Linked DNA regions of Homo sapiens: regions 1, 2 and 4 are each linked to region 3. The links are contacts of gene promoters, found by promoter capture Hi-C in blood cells and fetal thymus (Javierre and others, 2016). All regions are on one chromosome and are shown on one strand. The core of a region is centred on a gene start or on the middle of the fragment in contact, and the rest is flanking DNA. Distances in the headings are between cores, read along the strand shown. Region 1 overlaps PDPR (pyruvate dehydrogenase phosphatase regulatory subunit). Region 2 overlaps PDPR (pyruvate dehydrogenase phosphatase regulatory subunit). Region 3 holds the start of NPIPB15 (nuclear pore complex interacting protein family member B15). Region 4 overlaps PDPR (pyruvate dehydrogenase phosphatase regulatory subunit).

What was found. Contacts are between HindIII fragments. The CHiCAGO score rates a contact against its expected background, and 5 or more counts as called.
Region 1: a contact is called between a fragment that was not itself captured here and the fragment with the promoter of NPIPB15 in region 3, in 16 of 17 cell types (M1 macrophages, total CD4 T cells, non-activated CD4 T cells and 13 more). The highest score is 222.3, in M1 macrophages.
Region 2: a contact is called between a fragment that was not itself captured here and the fragment with the promoter of NPIPB15 in region 3, in 5 of 17 cell types (M1 macrophages, total CD4 T cells, naive CD4 T cells and 2 more). The highest score is 17.7, in M1 macrophages.
Region 4: a contact is called between a fragment that was not itself captured here and the fragment with the promoter of NPIPB15 in region 3, in 11 of 17 cell types (M1 macrophages, total CD8 T cells, M2 macrophages and 8 more). The highest score is 22.1, in M1 macrophages.

Annotation. Positions count from the first base shown.
Region 1 is chr16:70,159,552-70,165,187 of GRCh38, forward strand. PDPR (pyruvate dehydrogenase phosphatase regulatory subunit) reads left to right here. Exons shown (of 19, transcript NM_017990.5): 19 at 1-2,986. The region is part of intron 1 of LOC400541 (a long non-coding RNA gene); the gene reads right to left. Among named protein-coding and RNA genes, the nearest start is that of CLEC18C, 11 kb to the right of the region's middle. The HindIII fragment of the contact is 2,489 bases long and covers 690-3,178 here.
Region 2 is chr16:70,141,751-70,147,268 of GRCh38, forward strand. PDPR (pyruvate dehydrogenase phosphatase regulatory subunit) reads left to right here. Exons shown (of 19, transcript NM_017990.5): 12 at 484-639; 13 at 803-936; 14 at 1,760-1,908; 15 at 2,671-2,783; 16 at 4,384-4,478. Among named protein-coding and RNA genes, the nearest start is that of CLEC18C, 29 kb to the right of the region's middle. The HindIII fragment of the contact is 5,651 bases long and covers 1-5,510 here.
Region 3 is chr16:74,372,314-74,377,715 of GRCh38, forward strand. It overlaps NPIPB15 (nuclear pore complex interacting protein family member B15), which reads left to right and starts at 3,993. Exons shown (of 8, transcript NM_001306094.2): 1 at 3,993-5,033. The HindIII fragment of the contact is 9,807 bases long and covers 1-5,402 here.
Region 4 is chr16:70,122,542-70,128,030 of GRCh38, forward strand. It overlaps PDPR (pyruvate dehydrogenase phosphatase regulatory subunit), which reads left to right. Exons shown (of 19, transcript NM_017990.5): 4 at 4,719-4,852. Among named protein-coding and RNA genes, the nearest start is that of PDPR, 11 kb to the left of the region's middle. The HindIII fragment of the contact is 1,358 bases long and covers 2,058-3,415 here.

The DNA of each region.
Region 1 (5,636 bases), core at 684-3,183, 4.2 Mb before region 3:
CTGGTGGTTTTCTGTGATTGGTCTAATGTGAGCTCTTTGAACAGACAGATCTGACAGTGAATGACTCTCCCCTGCTTCTGGCATAACTGCTTTGCCTCTGTCTAGTGTCCAAGCATCTTAGCTGTTCAAGAGGAGAGGGCAGCATAACTTCCTGACCACCGGTGTCAGATATCAGAGCATTCTGGACTCCTGAGAGGCAGTGGCCTCTTGAGTGAACAGGGGAGGCCAGTAGATGCCCCAGATCCAGAGCCGTGGCTGCAAATCCAGCAGGAATAAGGAGGGACAACCACAGCCTCCTCATCCATGTGTCATTTCCAAGGGTTTGCCTTGTGTCTCAGCTCATTCTGGGCAGCACGTTTGTCTTCTGTCCCTAGAGATTTGAAGGATTTTGGACTCTTGTGAATGGGTGACTGGACTTGGCTTTACAGAGTTGGGTGCTTTTTTCTCTCTGCAATTACCTGTCATAGCATTTTGTGCTCACCACGAAGGATGGTCTCTGCCTTCTCTTGTCGGTGTATGCCATCTGAACCTAGGAACACAAAGTATATTGGCCTCAAACGGAGACCCAGGGTTGCCAGTTTTCCGTGGGCCTTCCCCTCCCTTGAAATGTCTTTAATTACCTCCCCTTCATCGTCAGGCCACGTGTGACTTCTGTTCTTAGCACTGCCAGGGTCATTGACTTCCATCTAAGCTTGCATCAGGAAGATGTTCCTTCTGTGATCATTGGTACTGAAGCCAGAAAAGCTCTCATTCAGGAACTCTGAAGAGCAAAAAGGGACAAACACTAACTGCTGAGCTGGGCCATTTGATCTCCTTTCACCTTGCATTGCTGTCACAGCACCTTGTATGATGGCAGGACAGGCTCCAGCAGAGAGAACTGCACAGTGACCACTGTATTTTTCACGCTCTTCCAGGGATCCCTGTCCCCCGACATTGAAGAGATCTCATTCAGGCCAGAGACACAGAGACCACATAGCCCAGTGATTAAACCCCGGTTTCACTCTGGCCCCAGGAGTGGAGCCTGGCCACTCCTGTTTGGTTCTCACTGGGAGGCCCACTGGCCTTGGATCATCTCCTCATGCACACCCGGAGTTTTACCTGCTTGCTTGCTTTCCTGGACTGCTGTTTGCAAGAAAGTAACTAAAACATGAAAAGTAAACCTCCAGCTTCCACAGTATATTACCTGCCGTTGCATGCATTTGAAAGTTAGCCTCCTCCCTTGCCACCGTCTTGGTGGCAGTAGCGATGCAAGAATGATGGGAGCTTTCCGAGAGCGTTCAGTGTTTCACTGAAGACAGGACCCATAGCCTTCATTTCTGGCTCTGTGTCTCCTCTGGCATATGGACACATTTCCTGGCATTTGCCTGAGTCTACACCACTTTTTGAGAACCTGAAATAGAAGGGAATCTTCTGTGGCCCACAGTCTCCATATTGGCACTAGAAGACTGGCCTGGCGGAGGAATTTGCGTTGGCTTGCTTTCAGGGGTTAGCTACAAGATTCAGCTTTATATCTCTGTTGCTTCTTGGCCAGTGTAGTCAATAAGGGTCTTCTTTAACATCTAAGATAGAGGTTTGGTTGGCCGGGCGTGGTCGCTTACTCCTGTAATCCCAGCACTTTGGGAGGCCCAGTGAGGTGGGAGAATTGCTTGAACCCAGGAGGCAGAGGTTGCAGTGAGCTGAGATTGCACCACTGCACTCCAGCCTGGGTAACAGAGTGAGACTCTTGTCTCAAAAAAAAAAAAAAAAAAATCTAAGATAGAGGTTTGGTCAACAGTGCTTAATAATAAATAAGAACCTCCTGCCATTCTAATTTTCCTGCTGCACCCCATCCCCCACACACCCCTCACGAACATTGATATAAGCAGTATTAACACAGTATAAAGAATGTTCACCTTGCATATGTCATTTCAGGCACATGGATTCAGGAGAAGCACAGTTGAGTGGAAGAAATGGTAGACTTGTGAGGCTTGCCCCAGGCCTTGTGTACACGCAATAAGTGGTGAGCCATGGGTCTCTCCGTCAGCGCCTCCCTCCCCGCCACCACTTCAGGCCAACAATTTAAGGTGCTGAGTTGTAAGGCTCCTCCATTGTCAGTACAGGGCTCGCCTTTGTAGCCCTGATCACTACCAGTACACTTTTCAAGACAACTGAGTATTTTTGTATGCCTTTGCCTTCCCTTTGTCCATGAAACATGAAGAGTTGTTTATGGTTCTTGACTTCTCTGAGCAGAGTGTCTGCATCTCTTGGAGAGTTACACATTTCTTCATGAGCCATTTTTCTCATTCTTAGATGCACCTGTTTTTATCCTTTGCAGACCATCTTCTGCCTTCTTATTTTCCTGTCTGTCAAAGACAGAAATTACAGGAGATAGGGAGGGTTTTTTAGCATCTCTTTCAAAAGATGTATGTCAGAATTTCCTTTGCACACCAAGAACTGGAGCTTAGAGCCCCACTATTCTCTAAGCCAGGTTCTAGTGCCTTACACTCCAGAATGTCAGATGGTGGGTGCAGATTGGAAGAAAGAGAAAAGTTCATCTCGGTGTGTGGGTTCCCATCCGCCCCACATAGCCTCTCCTTCTTCGGAACAATGGGCGTGGGGTAGAAAGCTCTTTCAGTGAAGGGTGTTCTAGCAGCTCAGTTAACACTTTACTCTCCAGTCAACACTTGGGACATATAAAAATGCCATTGTAACTACTGTAGAGTCCTGTGACTCATCGTTTGTGTTTGTCAATTTGCAGTTCAGCTTAGCCCTTCCCTGTTCCTGTGTAGTTACAATCTGGCCCTGAAGACATCCGAGGCACTTCAGTAAGTGGGATCTTTTCTAGAGATCCTGGGTGACTTTGGGTGCACAGGGTGACCGAGCATTTCTGCCCCTGTGAATGTGGCACTAACACTGTGCACTGTCTCCACCAAGCAAGGTTTCCACTGAGTTTCTTCTCATGTTACTGGGTTTGTAAATGAATAAACACATTTTAACTACTCTTGCACGGCTGCTTGTGAAATGTTCTTCATCTGTAGTGACTTAAATGTGTTTGCCACCACAAAGCATAAACAGCGTGCAGAGGAGAGTGTGTACCTCCCTGTGTGTACCAGTGTGAGGGAGGATTTGGGGACGGGGGTAGAGAAGATGTAGGTGTTTATCTTACCCTCCCTGCAGCGCTGGAGTGGCTGGGGGTAAAAGCTTCCCGCCTCCTGAAATTCCGACCGGCCTTCTGCCTACAGCTGACCTCAGGAGGAACCTGCCACCTGATGTTCCACACGGGCACGTGTGCACTCAGGTTTGTGTGGAAAGCAAGGGGGGTCGTGTTCTCACCCTGTGGAAACAACCCTGAGAGAAACAACCAGTGCTCTTTTTCTACACCAGCTTCCATCCACAAGTTGGTCCCTGGACTTGACCTGTTCACTAATTTTTTTTTTTGAGGCAGAGTCTTGCTCTTTTGCCCAGGCTGGAGTACAGTGGTGTGATCTTGGCTTACTGCAACCTCCACTCCCAGGTTCAAGTGATTTCCTGCCTTAGCCTCCAGAGTAGCTGGGATTACAGGCACGCGCCACCATGCCCAGCTAATTTTTGTATTTTCGTAGAGACGGGGTTTCGCCAGGTTGGCCAGGCTGGTCTCAAACCCCCAACCTCAAGTGATCCACCCACCTTGGCCTCCCAAAGTGCTGGGATTACAGGCGTGAGCCACTGTGCCTGGCCCAAAGTAATTTTTGAGTAGTTTTTTTTTTTTTAAGTATTTGTACTTTTGAGAATCTCATAGGTTAACATGTTTACAACAATCTCTTCATCTTGTCTTCTAAATCAGCCCCTTCTATTCCAGTTCCAGGAATAGTCAACCACGCCAGAAACCTGGGACTCACCTGGTCTCCCCACTCGCCTCTCCCTACACCTCCCGCTCATTACCCAGCCTCACAGGGCTGTCTCCTCAGTGCCTCTCCTCTGTTCGGACCTCACTGTCCCCACCACTGCTGCTGTGGCAGAGAGGGTTGTCAGCCCTGACTTCGAGAACAATCTCTTACTGATTTTCCTGCTTCTCATGTCATCCCCCCTCCCTCTGCAGGGTTGTCTTTGTAAAACAGGGGAGGTCAATTTACTCACTGCCTTGAAACCCTCAAGGGACTCCCCTTTGTCGTGAGACAAAGCTCTCAGTCCTTAGCCTGGCCAGCCAGGGTCTCCAGGGTGTGGCAGGCCACGCTGCCCCAGGGCTCCGGCCTGCGCTGCGTGTGATGTGGGTCCTGCAGCCGAGTGCGTGCTCGCCATCCACAGCTGGATCTCACCTCGAATCCTGCTTTCCAGTCACACTGAGAGGTCTCCCACTCCCATATTTGCTCACTAAAATGCCTCCTGGCAGCCCTCCCCTGTGCTTGTGGAAAGTCGCAAATTGAGGATCACATGGACCCCCACTCCCCCAAGTTGTCCTGACAGAGACCTCCTGTCTTTCATTTGATTGATTGATTGAGACGGAGTTTTGTTCTTCTTGCTTAGGCTGCTGGAGTGCAGTGGCGAGATCTCGGCTCACCACAACCTCCGCCTCCCAGGTTCAAGCAATTCTGCCTCAGCCTCCTGAGTAGCTGGGATAACAGGCATGCGCCACCATGCCTGGCTAATTTTGTATTTTTAGTAGAGACGAGGTTTCACTATGGTGGTCATTGGTCAGGCTGGTCTCGAACTCCTGACCTCAGGTGATCAACCCACCTCAGCCTCCCAAAGTGCTGGGATTACAGGTGTGAGCCACAGTGCCTGGCCCCTCCTGTCTTTCAAAAGCTCTGCCCAAGACCACCATCATCCCACAGTGGAGCCTTTCCTTCCCCAAGAGAATGGCCCCTTTGGGGTCCTCACACACCCGTTTCTGATGTGTCTTTATTTGGTTATCTGCCCTGCTCCTTCTGTAAGTCCCTCGGAGAAAGACTCGAATTCTCCCAAACTCCAACACCTCACATGGTGTTTGGTGTTTAACAGATGATTAAATGAATGGGCAAAAAGTGGAGGGCAAAATCTTTAAAATGTCTTTTAAGATTTAAGGATTTTAGGCCAGGTGCGGTGGCTCACACCTGTAATCCCAGCACTTTGGAATGCCGAGGCGGGCGGATCACCTGAGGTTGGGAATTCGAGACCAGCCTGACCAACATGGAGAAACCTTGTCTCTACTAAAAATACAAAATTAGGCGTGGTAGCGCATGCCTATAATCCCAGCTTCGCGGGAGGCTGAGGCAGGACAATCGCTTGAACTCAGGAGGTGGAGGTTGCAGTGAGCCGAGATCACGCCATTGCACTCCAGCCTGGGCAACAAGAGCGAAACTCTGTCTCAAAAAGAAAAAAAGATTTAAGGATTTTAAATGTTTGATTTTTTTTTCTTGTTGAGATAGAGTCTTGCTTTGTCGCCAGGCTGGAGTGTAGTGGCGTGATCTCGGCTCACTGCAACCTCTGACTCCCTGGTTCAAGGGATTCTCCCACCTCAGCCTCCCGAGTAGCTGGGATTACAGGCACACGCCACCACGCCCAGCTAATTTTTTGTATTTTTAGTAGATACCGGGTTTCACCATGTTGACCAGCATGGTCTCGATCTCCTGACCTTATGATCTGCCCACCTCAGCCTCCCAAAGTGCTGGGATTACAGGCGTGAGCCACCGCGCCCGGCC
Region 2 (5,518 bases), core at 1,435-3,934, 4.2 Mb before region 3:
TTCCTTCTGGAGCATGCCTGATACACTGGGTAATTTTGAAAATTAGACTACATTAGCCTGGAAATTGGGCCGGGCAGAGTGGCTCACGCCTGTAATCCCAGCACTTCGGGAGGCTGGGGCGGGCAGATCACCTGAGGTCAGGAGTTTGAGACCAGCCTGACCAACATGGAGAAACCCTGTCTCTACTAAAAATACAAAAATTAGTGTGGCACGGTGACACGTGCCTGTAATCCCAGCTACTCGGGAGGCTGAGGCAGGAGAATCGCTTAAACCCAGGAGGCAGAGGTTGCAGTAAGCCGAGATTGTGCCACTGCACTCCAGCCTGGACAACAAGAGCAAAACTCCGTCTTAAAAAAAAAAAAAAACTACGTTAGCCTGGAAAGCTCTTTTGAATAGAAACAACTCCAGAGTCTAGTGGACATGGGCTACTCAGGTCTAGAATCTGTGTCTTGGGCTTTGATAGACTACTCGTGTCTTTTCTAGCTTTGATGTATGATCTGAAGGTTCCCCGCTGGGACTTCCAGACCGGTAGGCAGTTACGCACCTCTCCTCTCTACGACCGGCTGGATGCACAGGGAGCCAGGTGGATGGAGAAACATGGATTTGAGAGGCCAAAGTACTTTGTTCCCCCCGACAAGGGTAAGAAGTCACATTCTCATTTTTGCTTCTTTTTTTTTTTTTTGTCCTGGGAATTAATAAAACATATTTTCAAATGCATAGGCTAGAATGTGTTCACAGAAGAAAAAGAACCACGTGGACTACACTAAACTCTACAGGGCCTTGTGATTTTTCCATTCCGTAGACCTCCTGGCATTGGAGCAGAGCAAGACTTTCTATAAGCCAGATTGGTTTGACATCGTGGAGTCTGAAGTCAAGTGCTGTAAGGAAGCTGTGTGTGTCATTGACATGTCCTCTTTCACAAAGTTTGAGATAACAGTAAGTATTTGGGAACCAAAAAGTAATAGATTAGGAAACTTTACATATTTATTGAATGCCTTTTGTTTTTCATCTTCAAAACTGATTCCTGACTGGGTGCAGTGGGTCATGCCTGTATTCCCAGCACTTTGGGAGGCCAAGGGGGCGTGGATCACCTGAGGTCAGAGTTCCAGACCAGCCTGGCCAAGATGGTGAAACCCCGTTTCTACTAAAAATACAAAAATTAAGGCCAGGAGTGGTGGCTCATGCCTGTAATCCCAGCAGTTTGGGAGGCCGAGACGGGTGGATCACCTGAGATCAGGAGTTCAAGACCAGCCTGGCCAACATGGCGAAACCGTCTCTACCAAAAATACAAAAAATTAACCAGGCATGGTGGCGGGCACTTGTAATCCCAGCTACTCGGGAGGCAGGAGAATCGCGTGAACTCATGAGGTGGAGGTTGCAGTGAGCTGAGATTGCGCCACTGCACTCAGCCTGGGCAACAGAGTGAGACTCCATCTCAAAAAAAAAAACAAAAAACAAAAACAAAACACTGATTTCTTAAGAATTCTGGTATATTTTAGTGTTTCATCTGTATTGTAACATTTTTCTGAAATTTTAGCTCCTTGTTTCAGGTTTTTAATTTGCTAGAGAGGCCTGTTTATCATAAGAATCAATAGCTAGCGTTCCCTGGAGCTTCTTGCAGTGGAGTAGGTCTGCAAATGTTGTCACATGGGAATTGGCTGATTGAATTTTCTCAATGAGGTTCATTGCTGGTGGGGCCATGTGGCCCAGCCAGGTGCTCTCACGCTCACTCTCTCTGTTTCATTCCCTAACCCTGCAGTCCACTGGGGATCAGGCATTAGAAGTTCTACAGTACCTCTTCTCCAATGACCTGGATGTGCCTGTGGGCCACATTGTGCATACTGGCATGCTCAACGAGGGTGGAGGGTATGAAAATGACTGCAGCATAGCACGACTGAACAAGCGCAGGTGAGATGAGCTGCCGTCCCGCTCTGCTCCCTCCAACATGTTGATTCCTTAGGGGTGCTGTAGCAGAGGCTCTCAGGCGCTTCTCCGGGAACCATAAATCCCAGAGTCTAAGAATCATTACATGAAATCAAAGCCAGTTTATTAGCAGTCCTAAACAAAAGAAATCACCAGGAGGAAAAGAAAAAAAAGCCCACCAGATTATGTACCCTACTGGGAGAAGATGCCTTGTCTTTTTTCTTTTTTTTTTTTTTGAGACAGGGTCTCACTTTGTTACCCAGGCTGGAGTGCAGTGATGCGATCATGGATCCCTGCAGCCTGGACCTCCTGGGCTCAAGTGATCCTCCCACCTCAGCTTTCCAGGTAGCTGGGACCACAGGTACACGCCACCACACCCAGCCAGTTTTTGTATATTTTGTAGAGATAGGGTTTTGCCACATTGCCCAGGCTGATCTTGAACACCTGAGCTCAAGCAATCTGCCCACCTTGGCCTCCAAAGTGCTGGGATTACAGGTGTGAGCCACTGTGCCCAGCCGATGTCTTAACGTTAGTAAATCTGTATAATTTCTTGGCATTAACAGGAAGCCAGAATTTTGTTTTGTTGTTAGGTGGTGTATCCTAGAATGGTGCTACTGGCCTTCTGTGAAAGCTAAGAAATCATTTCCTAGTATTTGCCTCATTGCTTTGAAACCAAATAAGATTTGATTGCTTCCTGATCCTTTTGCTGCTACCTGGTTTTGATTATTTTGGGGTCTCACTTTTCAGTTTCTTCATGATCTCTCCAACCGACCAGCAGGTCCACTGTTGGGCCTGGCTTAAGAAACACATGCCGAAAGACAGCAACCTGCTCCTGGAGGACGTCACCTGGAAGTACACAGGTACGGGGGTTCGGGCTCTGCCACGTCGAAAAGGCCAGCAGATGCAGATGTGTCCACGTTTGCCTTCTTTACATTTGACTCTCAAAAATGAACATTAGAGTTAGCATAAAAGAGGCTCTCTGGTCATAGAAAATTGATCTCTAGGGGATGCGGTGGCTGACACCTGTAATCCCAGCACTTTTGGAGGCCGAGGTTGGAGGATCACTAGGTCAGGAGTTCGAGACCAACCTGGACTATATGGTGAAACCCCGTCTCTACTAGAAATACAAAAATTAGCTGGGCGTGGTGGCACACACCTGTAATCCCAGCTACTTGGGAGGCTGAGGCAGGAGAATCACTTGAACCCAGGAGGCAGAGGTTGCAGTGAGCCCCAGATTGCACCACTGCACTCCAGCCTAGGCGAGTGAGACTCCATCTCAAAAAAAAAAAGAAAATTGAGGGCTGGACACAGTGGCTTACACCTGTAATCCCAGCACTTTGGGAGGCTGAGGCGGGCGGATCATGAGGTCAGGAATTTGAGACCAGCCTGGCCAACATGGTGAAACCCCATCTCTACTAAAAATACAAAAATTAGCTGGACATGGTGGTGCATGCCTGTAGTCCCAGCTACTCATGAGGCTGAAGCAGGAGAATCGCTTGAATCTGGGAGGCAGAGGTTGCAGTGAGCCAAGATCATGCCATTGCACCTCCACCTCCCGGGTTCAAGCGATTCTTCTGCCTCAGCCTCCCAAGTAGCTGGGATTATAGGCGCCCGCCACCACGCCGGGCTAATTTCTGTATTTTTAGTAGAGATGGGGTTTCACCATGTTGGCCAGGCTGGTCTTGAACTCTTGACCTCGTGATCCACCTGCTTCGGCCTCCCAAAGTGCTGGGATTACAGGCATGAGCCACCACGCCCAGTCCCAGAGAGTACCTAATTTTTAAGGATGACTTGGTTCCCTGATTTTCTCACTCTCAGCAGTCTCGGCTTAACCCCTCCCACCTTCCCACCTAACTGATCTTGCCCCTTGGCCCCACCAGCGTTTGCTCTCCCAGGCTCTCATTCTCAATTCCTTGTAGTAGCAAATATGATATACGTCCTGCTCCTGGATTGGGATACTACAGAATGTTACTGAACAAAAGTCATGTTCTAGCCTGTCTTAGGATGGATGACATGTAATTAGCACAAGCTGATGTCACAAACACTGGTGTCCAGAATAATGCTTTCCTTATCTAGTAAGCATTAGGATATGTTTGAAGTGGATTTAGCTTCTCTGAATTTAAAGTCTGTATACTTTTTGGTTGGGCAGATCTCCACCGGGTACTGATTTGGGGTTGGGGCTTCTTCCATCACATAGCCTTGCTGGGAAAAGGAGGAGAACGGGAATTGTGTGGGGTGGTTATGGCCAGCCCTGCTGCGTTCAGCAGGCCCTGTTGGCAGAGGTGTATTCGCCAGAATCGGGGTGCTTAGCATCCATCCTTGGAGTGTCTAAGCAAAGGGACATATTCCTGGTCTCTGCACCCAGGCCTGGCTATAGCTGAGCAAGTCTACAGTAGACCTTTCCCATTGGCTCAGCTGTTCAGAAGGAGAGCTGGACATCTCTTGTTCTTTTCCATTTAGCCCTCAATCTGATTGGCCCTCGAGCTGTGGATGTGCTGTCTGAGTTGTCCTATGCCCCTATGACTCCAGACCACTTCCCAAGCCTCTTTTGCAAGGTAAGTGCTGATAAAGTTCTGTTTCTTAAATGGGCAGAGAATGTGTCTTTCATAGCGGTGGCAGGTACATATTCTTACTATGGTGTTAGCACCCACAAAGAGTGTCTTGGCTGGGTGAGGTGGCACATGCCTGTAATCCTAGCACTTTGGGAGGCCGAGGCAGGTGGATCACCCAAAGTCAGGAGTTTGAGACCAGCCTGGCCAACATGGTGAGACCCTGTCTCTGTTAAAAATACAAAAATTAGCTGGGTATGGTCTCACGCACCTATAATCCCAGCTACTTGGGAGGCTGAGGCACAGGAATCGCTTGAACTCTGGAGGCAGAGGTCGCAGTGAGCCGAGAACACGCCACTGCACTCCACCTGGGTGACAGAGTGAGACTCTGTCTCAAATAAAAGAGTGTGCTGGCCAGGTGCAGTGGCTCACGCCTATAATCCCAGCACTTTGGGATTACATCTTATATTTATAAATAAATATAAAAATACAAAAATTAGCCGGGTGTGGTGGCGCATGCCTGTGGTCCCAGCTACTCGGGAGGCTGAGGCAGGAGAATGACTTGAACCTGGGAGGCAGATGTTGCAGTGAGCCGAGATTGCGCCATTGCACTCCAGGCTGGCAACAGAGCAAGACTGTCTCAAAAAAAAAAAAAAAAATGTGCTGCCCTTCATTAGCAAAGAAGTGACTAAGTATATTTATTTATTTATTTATTTATTTATTTATTTTGAGACAGAGTTTCACTCTTGTTGCACAGGCTGGCGTGCAATGGTGCGATCTCGGCTCACTGCAACCTCCACTTCCCGGGTTCAGGCGATTCTCCTGTTTCAGCCTCCCGAGTAGCTGGGATTACAAGCGCCCGCCACCATGCCCAGCTAACTTTTTGTATTTTTAGTAGAGACAGGGTTTCACCATGTTTGCCAGGCTGGTCTTGAACTCCTGACCTCAGGTGAACCACCCACCTCAGCCTCCCAAAGTGCTGGGATTACAGGTGTGAGCCACTGCGCCCGGCCTTATTTGTTTATTTTTTACACTCCAAGCTTGCT
Region 3 (5,402 bases), core at 2,743-5,242:
CTCACGTAATCTTTCTGGCAATCTCATGAAGTAAATTTTAGCAGATAGAGTAGACACAGATGTAACATGACTTTTCCAAGATCACACACCTAGGAGGAAGGACCAGAAATGGAGCTCTTCCCATGTTGAATATCTGAATCTAATGATCTTTGCACTATGCCATAGGACAGGTGGCCAGGAAAGCATCTGAGACTGGGTGATGTAAGGGCTGGATACAGAGACAGAAAAAAGCAGGCAGTGTAACAGGAAGGAACGCAGCTAGCTATGGTAGATGGGATGTTGTTTTCAATTCCTCATTCCCTATTGCCATGTGACCTTGCAGTGCACGAAATGGGGGGAGTAGGATTCCTGTCCCACTGATGTTGGTTGGCTTCAGTCAAACATTATTATTATTATTTTGAGATGGAGTCTTGCTCTGTCGCTAGGCTGGAGTGCAGTGGCACGATCTCGGCTCACTGCAACCTCTGCCTCCTGGGTTCAAGCAATTCTTCTGCCTCAGCCTCCCGATTAGCTGGTACTACAGGAGCACGCCACCACACCCAGCTAATTTTTGTATATATAAATTTTTTTTAGTTGAGACAGGGTTTCACCATGTTGGCCAGGATGGCCTCAATCTCTTGACCTTGTGATCCGCCCGCCTTGGCCTCCCAACGTGCTGGGATTACAGGCGTGAGCCATTGCACCTGGCCAACCAAACTTATTTTTTAAGGTGGGTAGAAGCCATAGTGTACAGATCTGGAGATTGGCCTTAAGAGGTGTTGAGCATGTCATCAGCCCTTGTCACAAGTTTATGCCCTGAGTAGCTGTTGGATCATGGAAAGTGAAAGGCACTTGAAACAGACCTGAACTCAGCCTGAAGCCAAGCCTGCTGACCCTCAGCCTGAAACAAAGCTGTCCAAGCCTGCTGACCCTCAGTTTGAAACAAAGCTGTCCAAGCCTACTGACTCTCAGTTTGAAACACAGCTGTCCAGCTAGACCATAGTCACCTACAGTCTCATGAGCATGGCACTGAATGCTTTGTTGTAAGGCACTGAGTTTTGGGCTGGTTTACTAGGTAGCCTTTTTTGCAGCTCAAATAAAGGCTGTCTGATAGTGCAATTATATAAGAATGGTGAAATCAGGGCCTACGCCTTCTTAAGGAAATCTTCACTCACTGCAGTCTTGCAAGTCAATGGTCTTATTCTGCTTATCCAACTAATTCTGGAGCAGCTACATCTGGGAACCCCGTAGGCTCACGTCTACAACAGTGTCTTCATCCTGTCTTCTCAATCAGCCCCTTCTATTTCCAGTTCCAGGAATGGCCAACCACACCAGAAACCTGGGACTCACCTGGTCTCCCCACTCGCCTCTCCCTCCACCTCCTGCTCATCACCCAGCCTCAAAGGGTCTGTCTCCTCAGTGCCTCTCCTCTGTTCGGACCTCTCTGTCCCTACCACCGCTGCTGTGGTTGAGAGGGTTGTCAGCCCTGACTTCGAGAACAATCTTTTTTTTTTTTTGAGATGGAGCCTCAGTCTGTCGCCCAGGCTGGAGTGCAGTGGTGCGATCTTGGCTCACTGCAACCTCCGCCTCCCGGGTTGAAGTGATTCTCCTGCCTCAGCCTCCTGAGTAGCTGGGATTACAGGCATGCACCACCATGCCCCGCTAATTTTTGTATGTTTAGTAGAGACTGGGTTTCACCATATTGGTCAGGCTGGTCTCGAACTCCAAACCTTGTGATCCGCCCGCCTCTGAGATCAGAACTGAGATCACGCCACTGCATTCCAACCTGGGCAACAAGAGCTAACTCTGTCTCAAAAAAAAAAAAAAAAGTTTTTAAAGACAGGGTCTCGCTATGTTGCCCATGCTGGTCTTGAATTCCTGGGGTCAAGTGATGCTTCTGCTTTAGCCTCCCAAGGAGCTGGAATCATGGGTGCCCACCACCATGCTCGGCTACTATTTTCTTCAAAATTCAAATATTCTAGCTTAACAGTACCTATTAGATAAATAAATGGCAATTTTCTGGAACATTCTTTTTTTGGTTTTGTTTTGGTTTTTTTTTTTTTTTTTTTTTTTTGAAACGGAGTCTCCCTCTGTCGCCCAGGCTGGAGTGCAGTGGCGCAATCTCGGCTCACTGCCAGCTCCGCTTCCCGAGTTCACGCCATTCTCCTGCCTCAGCCTGCCGAGTAGCTACGACTACAGGTGCCTGCTACCACGCCCGGCTAATTTTTCTGTAGTTTTAGTAGAGACGGGGTTTCACCGTGTTAGCCAGGATGGTCTCGATCTCCTGACCTCGTGATCCACCCGCCTCGGCCTCCCAAAGTGCTGGGATTACAGGCTTGAGCCGTGGCACCCGGCCCAGGAACTTCTCTTATATCTAGAAGCCAGGCTTGGTGACTCTACTTGCTCACCAGATGATCCTACACCTGCCACCTCCGATGGATCCACTGCCTCTGTGCCTGCCTGTACTGCTGATGCTCCAGTGGATAACTCAGCATCCCAGCCTAGGCCCAATGCCACTGAAGATGGACCTGCCCCCTGGAGACCCAGGAGTTCTACCACTCAGCTGTCCCCAGAAGTGCCCAGACCCTCATTCTTATCCAGGACCTAGGAGCCCTACCCCCTGGCCTTCCGTCATCAGCCGTAAATGATGATTTACTGCTGTTACCATCATCACTGCATTTAGTAACCAAGGGCCTTCCAAGGTGCCAGCTCTGGAACGAAGGATGCCTTTGGGAGGTGATGACACTCAGGTACACGGGTGCTCAACAGATTGCTTCCTCCTATCCTCAGATGGTCTTTGCATGCATGCAGCCATTGGCACTCCCATTGTACGCAAGGAAACCAGCCCAGGGTCACACAGCTGGTCAGCAGCAACACAGCTGGTCTCAAATCTAAGGTGCCTGGCCATGCCTCCATGAGGGACCGCCTGCAAGGGAGGTTGATCCTGGCTTTGGGGAGCCTTTCCTGGGCTGCACGAGTAACCTCCAATGTTTGAGGCCCCAAACTCTGCTCACATCTTCCTTTCCCTGTCTCTGCTTGGGCTATGATCACGGTGACTCTAGCAACCCTTCATGGACATTATAGTACTCTCTGCCATTCACTTTTGGTCTAATCTGACTTCAACCCCCACTTACTTGGTCTCTCCTTTTACAACCAACACAACCGAAATCCGAGGGCTTCTTTTTTTTTGAGACAGAGTCTCATTCCATTCTGTCACCCAGGCTGGAGTGCAATGGCACGATCTCGGCTCACTGCAACCTCCACCTCCTGGGTTCAAGGGATTGTCCTGCCTCAGCCTCCTGAGTAGCTGGGATTACAGGCGGGTGCCACCGTGCCTGGCTAATTTTTGTATTTTTAGTAGAGACGGGGTTTCACCATGTTGGTCAGGCTGATCTCGAACTCCTAACCTCGTGATCCGCCTGCCTCAGCCTCCCAAAGTGCTGGGATTACAGGCGTGAGCCACCATGCCCAGCCAAATCTAGGGCTGGAACATGGCTGCAGCATATAAATAGAATTGAATTCCATAGTTTTGTTAACCCTGTTTTTTGTTTGTTTGTAGTTGTTGCTGTTTTTGAGACTGAGTCTCGCTCTGTCGCCTAGGCTGGAGTGCAGTGGTGCAATCTCGGCTCACTGCAGACTCTGCCTCCCGGGTTCAAACTATTCTCCTGCCTCAGCCTCCCAAGTAGGTGGGACTAAGGCGCCCACCACCACACCCGGCTAATTTTTGTATTTTATTAGAGACAGGGTTTCACCATATTGGCCAGGCTGGTCTGGAACTCCTGACCTTGTGATCCACCCACCTCGGCCTCCCAAAGTGCTGGGATTACAGGCGTGAGCCACCACACCCAGCCCCTGTTTTGTTTTTGTTTTGCTTGTTTCTTAGGGTTGTTTTTCTATTTATGGTAAAGGCATTGGCTTTCCATTTGTAGCATCAATAGAATATTTCCTGTTTACAATAACCTTATGTCATAGTAAATGGTAAAGGGATTTAAAGCAGTGGTTTTCAGCTGCCAGAGGCCTGAGTGAGTTTGGGCACACTCTGTGTGATCGGGCAGAAGGCCTGTGGGAAGTTCAGCTGAGGACAGGGCCAGGAAAGGTGATGGACAGTGGGGGTCTGTCCTGGTCACCAGACCCCTGGGTCCTGCCCACCTGCTTGGAGCTCCCCACCCATCACACATGATGCTGCCAAGCCCTCTGGGTATTGTGGGCAAATACCTTAGGAGAGAAGCTGATGAACTTTGTTTCTTGAAATGCACAGATTCCTTGGACGTCCCTGAGAGGTCAATGATGAAGGTCAACTTGGTTTTCTCCCCCTCATTTGGGTTCAGAATTTAAAGTCCACACACACAGGCAGTAAGATGATTATAGATAAGGACATCATCACTCGGTTTCAGATGTTAAAATGTCTAGGTGGGTTAGGGGTGATTTGAGATCACACAACCTTGTGCCACAAAGAGGAATTCCCAGGCCAGGGGGAGACATTTTATTGCCATGTTATGATCTCATCATTGAGTTGAAAGGCAATCTTGTTTCATTTTGGATTCTTTCTTATGTTTATGTCTTATAAGGGCACTTTGAATTTCCAAGCAAATAATAATTTTGAATTAGCTTTTAATCATTGACTTCTAGCACAGTTATATGATCAGAAACATGCTGTGTGATTTGATTGCTCTCAAATATATTGAGATTTGCTGGAACAAAATAAGTCAGGTTAATTTTTGTAAATGTACCATGCATGCTTAAAATGAATGTATCTACATTTGTTCCTGAGATACAGGTTGATGGACGGATGGCTACATGGATGTGATGGAGATGGTTTACTATCGGGACCTTCCGCATCCTGCTGATGTTTTGTTGCTTAGGATATGAATGGCTGAGCGGAGGCTGTAAAACCTGGCACTCTGCTTGGGTATGAAGTTCTTCCTGCCATCCTGCCATCATTTGTTTTTTATGTTTTGTCGCCAAAAGTGACCTTGAGGAACCCTGGGAGCTCAGGAAGGAAGGAGAGCCCAGAAGCAGGGACAGGGAGCTGGTTGGGGAGGACCAGAAATCAGGTTTGTGAAGGTTCCAGAGAGGACCTGTCCTTGCGAGGAGTGTGGGAGACTGAGATGGGGGAGGGGTCATTGGAATGATGCGGGCGCTACTTGGCATTGTCCATTGTGAGGCACCACCGGGGTCATCAGGGATTGGTGGAGAGGGAGTATAAAGCCCCAGGGTTGCTAAGGGAGGGCCCAGACCGAAGAAGGTTTGGTGGATAGCAGAACCTTTTTGTCTCCCTCTAATTGCTCCTAAGCCTCACGCTCCCTTGCCCCACGTGTCCTGTTGCTTCCCTGATCTTCTCCGTGACCTGTAGCTAAACCTTCCACCAGCGCTTGAGAACTTAATTTGAACCGGATCCTTTCCCAGACCCCTTTCTTCTCCTC
Region 4 (5,489 bases), core at 1,487-3,986, 4.3 Mb before region 3:
CACTCAGTTACATTGGTGTCCTCCAAGCATCTCTAGCACAGAGACCCTGTTTTCTCCCCTTGTAATGGGCCAGTGCCCTTTGAGGAGAGATGGATTCTGAGATTATGCCAATATCCTGTTCATATGAGACCTCCACCTACCGGGCTTAGCATCCATTGACAACTGTTGCCTGAGTCAGCCACCACCGTGATGGTTGACAAATGGTGATTTTTTGATCATACTTCTACATTTATTATAGTTGGCATATTACTGTCAGGAAGAGATTTCCTTCTCCCCCATTTATTTACTCAGTTATATATCTGTATACACACATACACACACACACACCAGTTTAGACTCATGGATTTCTATTTTATGCAGTGGATAGTTTTTTTTTTGAGACAGAGTCTTGCTTTGTCACCCAGGCTGGAGTGCAGTGACGTGATCTCGGCTCACTGCAACCTGTGCCTCCCGGATTCCAGTGATTCTCCTGCCCCAGGCTCCCAAGTAGCTGGGATTAATAGTTGCATGCCACCACACCTGGCTAATTCTTGTATTTTTAGTATAGATGGGGTTTCACCATGTTGGCCAGGCAGGTCTTGAACTCCTGACCTCAGCTGATCCACCCGCCTCAGCCTCCCAAAGTGCTGGGATTACAGGCATGAGCCACCGTGCCCGGCCCGCAGTGGATACTTTTAAGAGCAAAAGTGGGTTTTGTTTTTGTTAATGTTTTTGAGACAGAGTCTCACGCTGTCACTCAGGCTGGAGTGCAGTGGTTCAATCTCAGCTCACTACAACCTCTGCCTCCTGGGCTCAAGTGATCCTCCCACCACAGCCTCCTGAGTAGCTGGGACTACAGGCATGCACTACCATGCCTGGCTAATTTTTTGTTTTTTTGGTAGAGACGTGATTTCACCTTGTTGTCCAGGCTGGCCTCAAACTCCTGGGCTCAAGTGATCCGCCCACCTCAACCTCCCAAAGTACTGGGGTTACAGGTGTGGGCCGCCACACTTGGCCTCATAATGCTTCCTTGATGTCAAAGTCTTTCTCCTATTTTTTGAAATCCTTTTAAATTTAATTATCAGGTATTTCCACAAAAAGTGATAAACTAATCGCAGTGTAAATGTTTCTAAGTGGGAGACCCTAGGGAGGTTCATTTTTGGTTTAATTTGTTGCTTCAAGATTATATAATACCTTAGAATTGATATAAGGCAGACTATTTAAACCTCACACTTAAAAATAATTACGCCAGCCAGGCACGATCGCTCACACCTGTAATCCCAGGACTTTGGGAGGCCAAGGTGAGTGGATCACCGGAGATCAGGAGTTCGAGACCAGCTTGGCCAACATGGTGAAACGCCGTCTCTACTAAAAAATACAGAAATTAACTGGGAGTGGTTATTCGCGTCTGTTAATCTCAGCTACTCGGGAGGCTGAGGTAGGAAAATCACTTGAATCCAGGAGGCGGAGGATGCAGTGAGCCAAGATCGCACCATTGCACCCCAGCCTGGGCGACAGAGCAAGACTCAGTCTCAAAAAAAAAAAAAAAAATTATGCCTCGGCCAAGTGCAGTGGCTCATGCCTGTTATCCCACGACTTTGGGAGGCCAAGGTGGGTGGATCACCTGAGGTCGGGAGTTCAAGACCAGCCTGCCCAACATGGGGAAACCCCGTCTCTACTAAAAATGCAAAAATTAGCTGGGCGTGGTGGCATAAGCCTGTAATTGTAGCTACTCAGGAGGCTGAGGCAGGAGAATTGCTTGAACCTGGGAGGCAGAGATTGCAGTGAGCCAAGTTTGTGCCACTGCCCTCCAGCCTGGGCAACAGAGTGAGACTGTCTCAAAAAATAATAGTTATTATTATGCCTTATCCGTGGCTTGTGAAATGGTTTTATACTGCCCTTTATGTATAATTATTCCTCTTGTCCATCTTCACTATTGTTCTCATAGATCAATGGGTCTTAAATCTGTCTGCACATTAGAATCAGCTGGGGAGCTTTTAACAATTACCAGTGCCCAGACCTCTCCCCAGAACAAACCAGAATCTCTAGGGGTGAGGCCAGGCATCAATATTTTTAAAAGCTTCCCCGGGGACTCTAATGTACCTCCAAGGGCGAGAGCCACTGTCAAAGCTGCTCAAGGAGTGCTATCCCAGCAGAGACGTCACCAGAGCTATAGGTGCTGACCACCAGCCAGTTAATGGAACTCCCACCTGGGGTGGAGCTCCACACAGTTACAAAGATGATAGAAAAATCTCTTTAGGGAGCTGACAATCTTATGTGGAAAATATAATTATTAGAGTAAATACAGTAAACTCAAGTGACAGGCATGCTGACACAGATGTTAGTTTATTTACTGAGTGATAAATAATTTGGGGAAAATGACCTTAGAACCCCCCACCTGCTTTCTTGACATATGGGTCCCTTGCAAAACTGGGTCTTTGGGCCCTAGCATTACTGTAGCCTTTATATTCTGTTGCTACCACAAATTAGAGAACATTTTTTTCAATGTAAAGTTTATGTACTTTTGAATAGGCAATGTATTTATATGATTCAAAATTGAAAATATGTAAAAGAAGCTGGGTGCAGTGGCTTATGCCGGTAATCCCAGCACTTTGGGAGGCTGAGGCGGGTGGATCATCTAAGGTCAGGAATTCGAAACCAGCCTGGCCAACATGGCAAAACCCCATCTCTACTAAAAATACAAATTTAGCCAGGCATGGTGGTGCACACCTGTAATCCTAGCTACTTGGGAGGTTGAGGCAAGAGAATTGCTTGAACCTGGGAGGTGGAGGTTGCGGTGAGCCGAGATTGTGCCATTGCACTCCAATCTGAGTGACGAGCAAAACTCCGTCTCTAAAAAAACAAACAAACAAAAAAACAAAAATTAGCTGGGCATGGTGACACACACCTGTAATCCCTGCTACTCGGGAGACTGAGGCAGGAGAATAGCTTGAACCCAGGAGGCAGAGGTTGCAGTAAGCCGAGATTGTGCCATTGCACTCCAGCCTGGGTGACAAGGGAAACTGCGTCTCAAAAAAAAAAAAAAAAAAAAAAGTATATATATATATATGTAAAAGAGTATACAGGAAAAAGACTCCCCAATGTTCTTTCCTTTTCTTTCTTTTTTTTTTTAAGATGGAGTCTTGCTCTGTCACCCAGGCTGTAGTGCAGTGGTGCAGCCTCAGCTCCTGCAACCTCTGCCTCCTGGGTTCAGGCGATCCTCCTGCCTCAGCCTTCTGAATAGCTGGGATTACAGACGCCTGCCACCATGCCCGGCTGATTTTTGTATTTTTAGTAGAGATGGGGTTTCGCCATGTTGGCCAGGCTGGTCTCGAACGCCTGACCTCAAGTGATCTGCCTGCCTCAGCCTCCCAAAGTGCTGGGATTATAGATGTGAACCACTGCACCCAGCCCTCAATCTTCACTTCTAACAAAAAGCTTTCTCTCTGGAGGGAAGTTAAGTTCTAGTTATATTCTCTACTTCTATAAGCAATTATGTGTTGGTAGGTTTGTGTATATGTGTATGGATATTCATTTATTATATTTTTTCTCTTTTTTATATAAGTGGGAGCATACCTTACACACTGTTCTTCACCTTGCTTTTTCATTATGATTGTTCCATTTTGGTACATAAAGACCTTTTCATTCTTTTTTATAGCTGCATAATATTCCATTGTATAGATGAATTCCAAAATTTTATTTTATTTTAGAGATGGGGTCTTGCTCTATTGCTTAGTCTGAAGTGTAGTGGCACAATGCTAGCTCACTGCAGCCGCAAACTTTTGGGATCAAGGGATCTTCTTGCCTCAGCTTCCCAAGTAGCCTGGCTAACTTTTATCTTTATTTTTTTTACTTTTTTTTGAGGCGGAGTCTCGCTCTGTCACCCAGGCTGGAACGCCGTGGCACAGTCTTGACTCACTGCAAGCTCCACCTCCCGGGTTCATGCCATTCTCCTTCCTCAGCCTCCCGAGTAGCTGGGACTACAGGCGCCTGCCACAATGCCTGGCTAATTTTTTGTATTTTTTGTAGAGACGGGGTTTCACTGTGTTAGCCAAGATGGTTTCGATCTCCTGACCTTGTGATCCGCCCACCTCAGCCTCCCAAAGTGCTGGGATTACAGGCGTGAGCCACCGCACTCAGCCTTTATTTTTATTTGTTTATTTATTTTTATTTTTATCTTTTTTTGGTAGAGACACAGTCTGGCTATGTTGCCCAGGCCAGTCTTGAACTCCTGGCCTCCAGTGAACCTGCTACCTCAGCCTGTCAAAGTGCTGGGATTACAGGCATGAGCCACTGTGCCTGGCCTAAACTATCCAGAATTTTAAATCTGTCCCATGTCATTGAACATTTTTCTCACCCTGTTGCCCAAGCTGGAGTGCAGAGATGTGATCACAGCTCACTGCAACCTCTACCTTTTGAACTCAAGCGCTCCTCTGGCCTTAGCCTCCCAAGTAGCTGGGACTGCAGGCATGTGCTACCATGCCTGGCTAATTTTGTTGTTGTTGTTGGTAGAGATGGGTTCTCCCTGTGTTGACCAGGCTGGTCGTAAACCCCTGTCCTCAAGCAGTCCTCAGTCCTCCTACCTTGGCCTCCTAAAGTGCTGGGATTATAAGTGTGAGCCACTGTGCCCAGCTTGTTTCCATCTTTTGGTGTTAGAAACAGTATTAAATGAGAAACCCTGACCTCGTATTCACAGATGACGTCAATCTACCTAATAGCATTTTGCATCCATCCTGCAGGCTGGCTGCTGGCTCTACCAGGTTCTGTGCTGGCATCCTGAGCACTGCCAGGCACTTGACCATTGAGCAGAAGATGGCAGACTACTCAAACAAACTCTACTATCAGTTAGAGCAAGAAACAGGGATCCAAACAGGTAAGCAAGTGTCTTCCATTTATTGCTTTGCCTGTCCCTGAGATTGTTATATTCATTTCTGTATTTGGTCCTCTGCCAGGTGTGCCTGCTGCTTTGGTAATTAAAACTTGGGTTGGCCGGGCATGGTGGCTCACGCCTGTAATCCCAGCACTTTGGGAGGCCGAGGCAGGCGGATCACGAGGTCAGGAGATCGAGACCATCCTGGCTAACATGGTGAAACCCCGTCTCTACTAAGAAATTAAGAAAATATGTAAATTATCCTTACTGTACTTCTTTTGAAAATAAGATACCAAATTGCTTCAACTCTTTCTTCATAAGAATTAAGAGTCATTGCATTTTAGGAGAATTGTCATTGGCCCAAGTGTAATTATGGTTCTATATCAGGTGTGTTGATTACAGACAACAGGAATTGGCTCTGGCCAACTTGGAGCTTGTTGGGAGGAGCTTGGGCCTGTGGAGTTGGCAGGAGGCTGCCAGCTGGAGGCAGCCTGGAAGCCAGGATGTGGGGACTGCACCGCAGGCAGTCCCTCAGCGAGAACAGGAGCAGCCTGGCGTGGCTGATGCTGCCCTTGAGATGGTGACCTCTAGTCATTCACCTACGTGCTCAAGACTGACTCTTCCAGGAGGGTCTGATTGG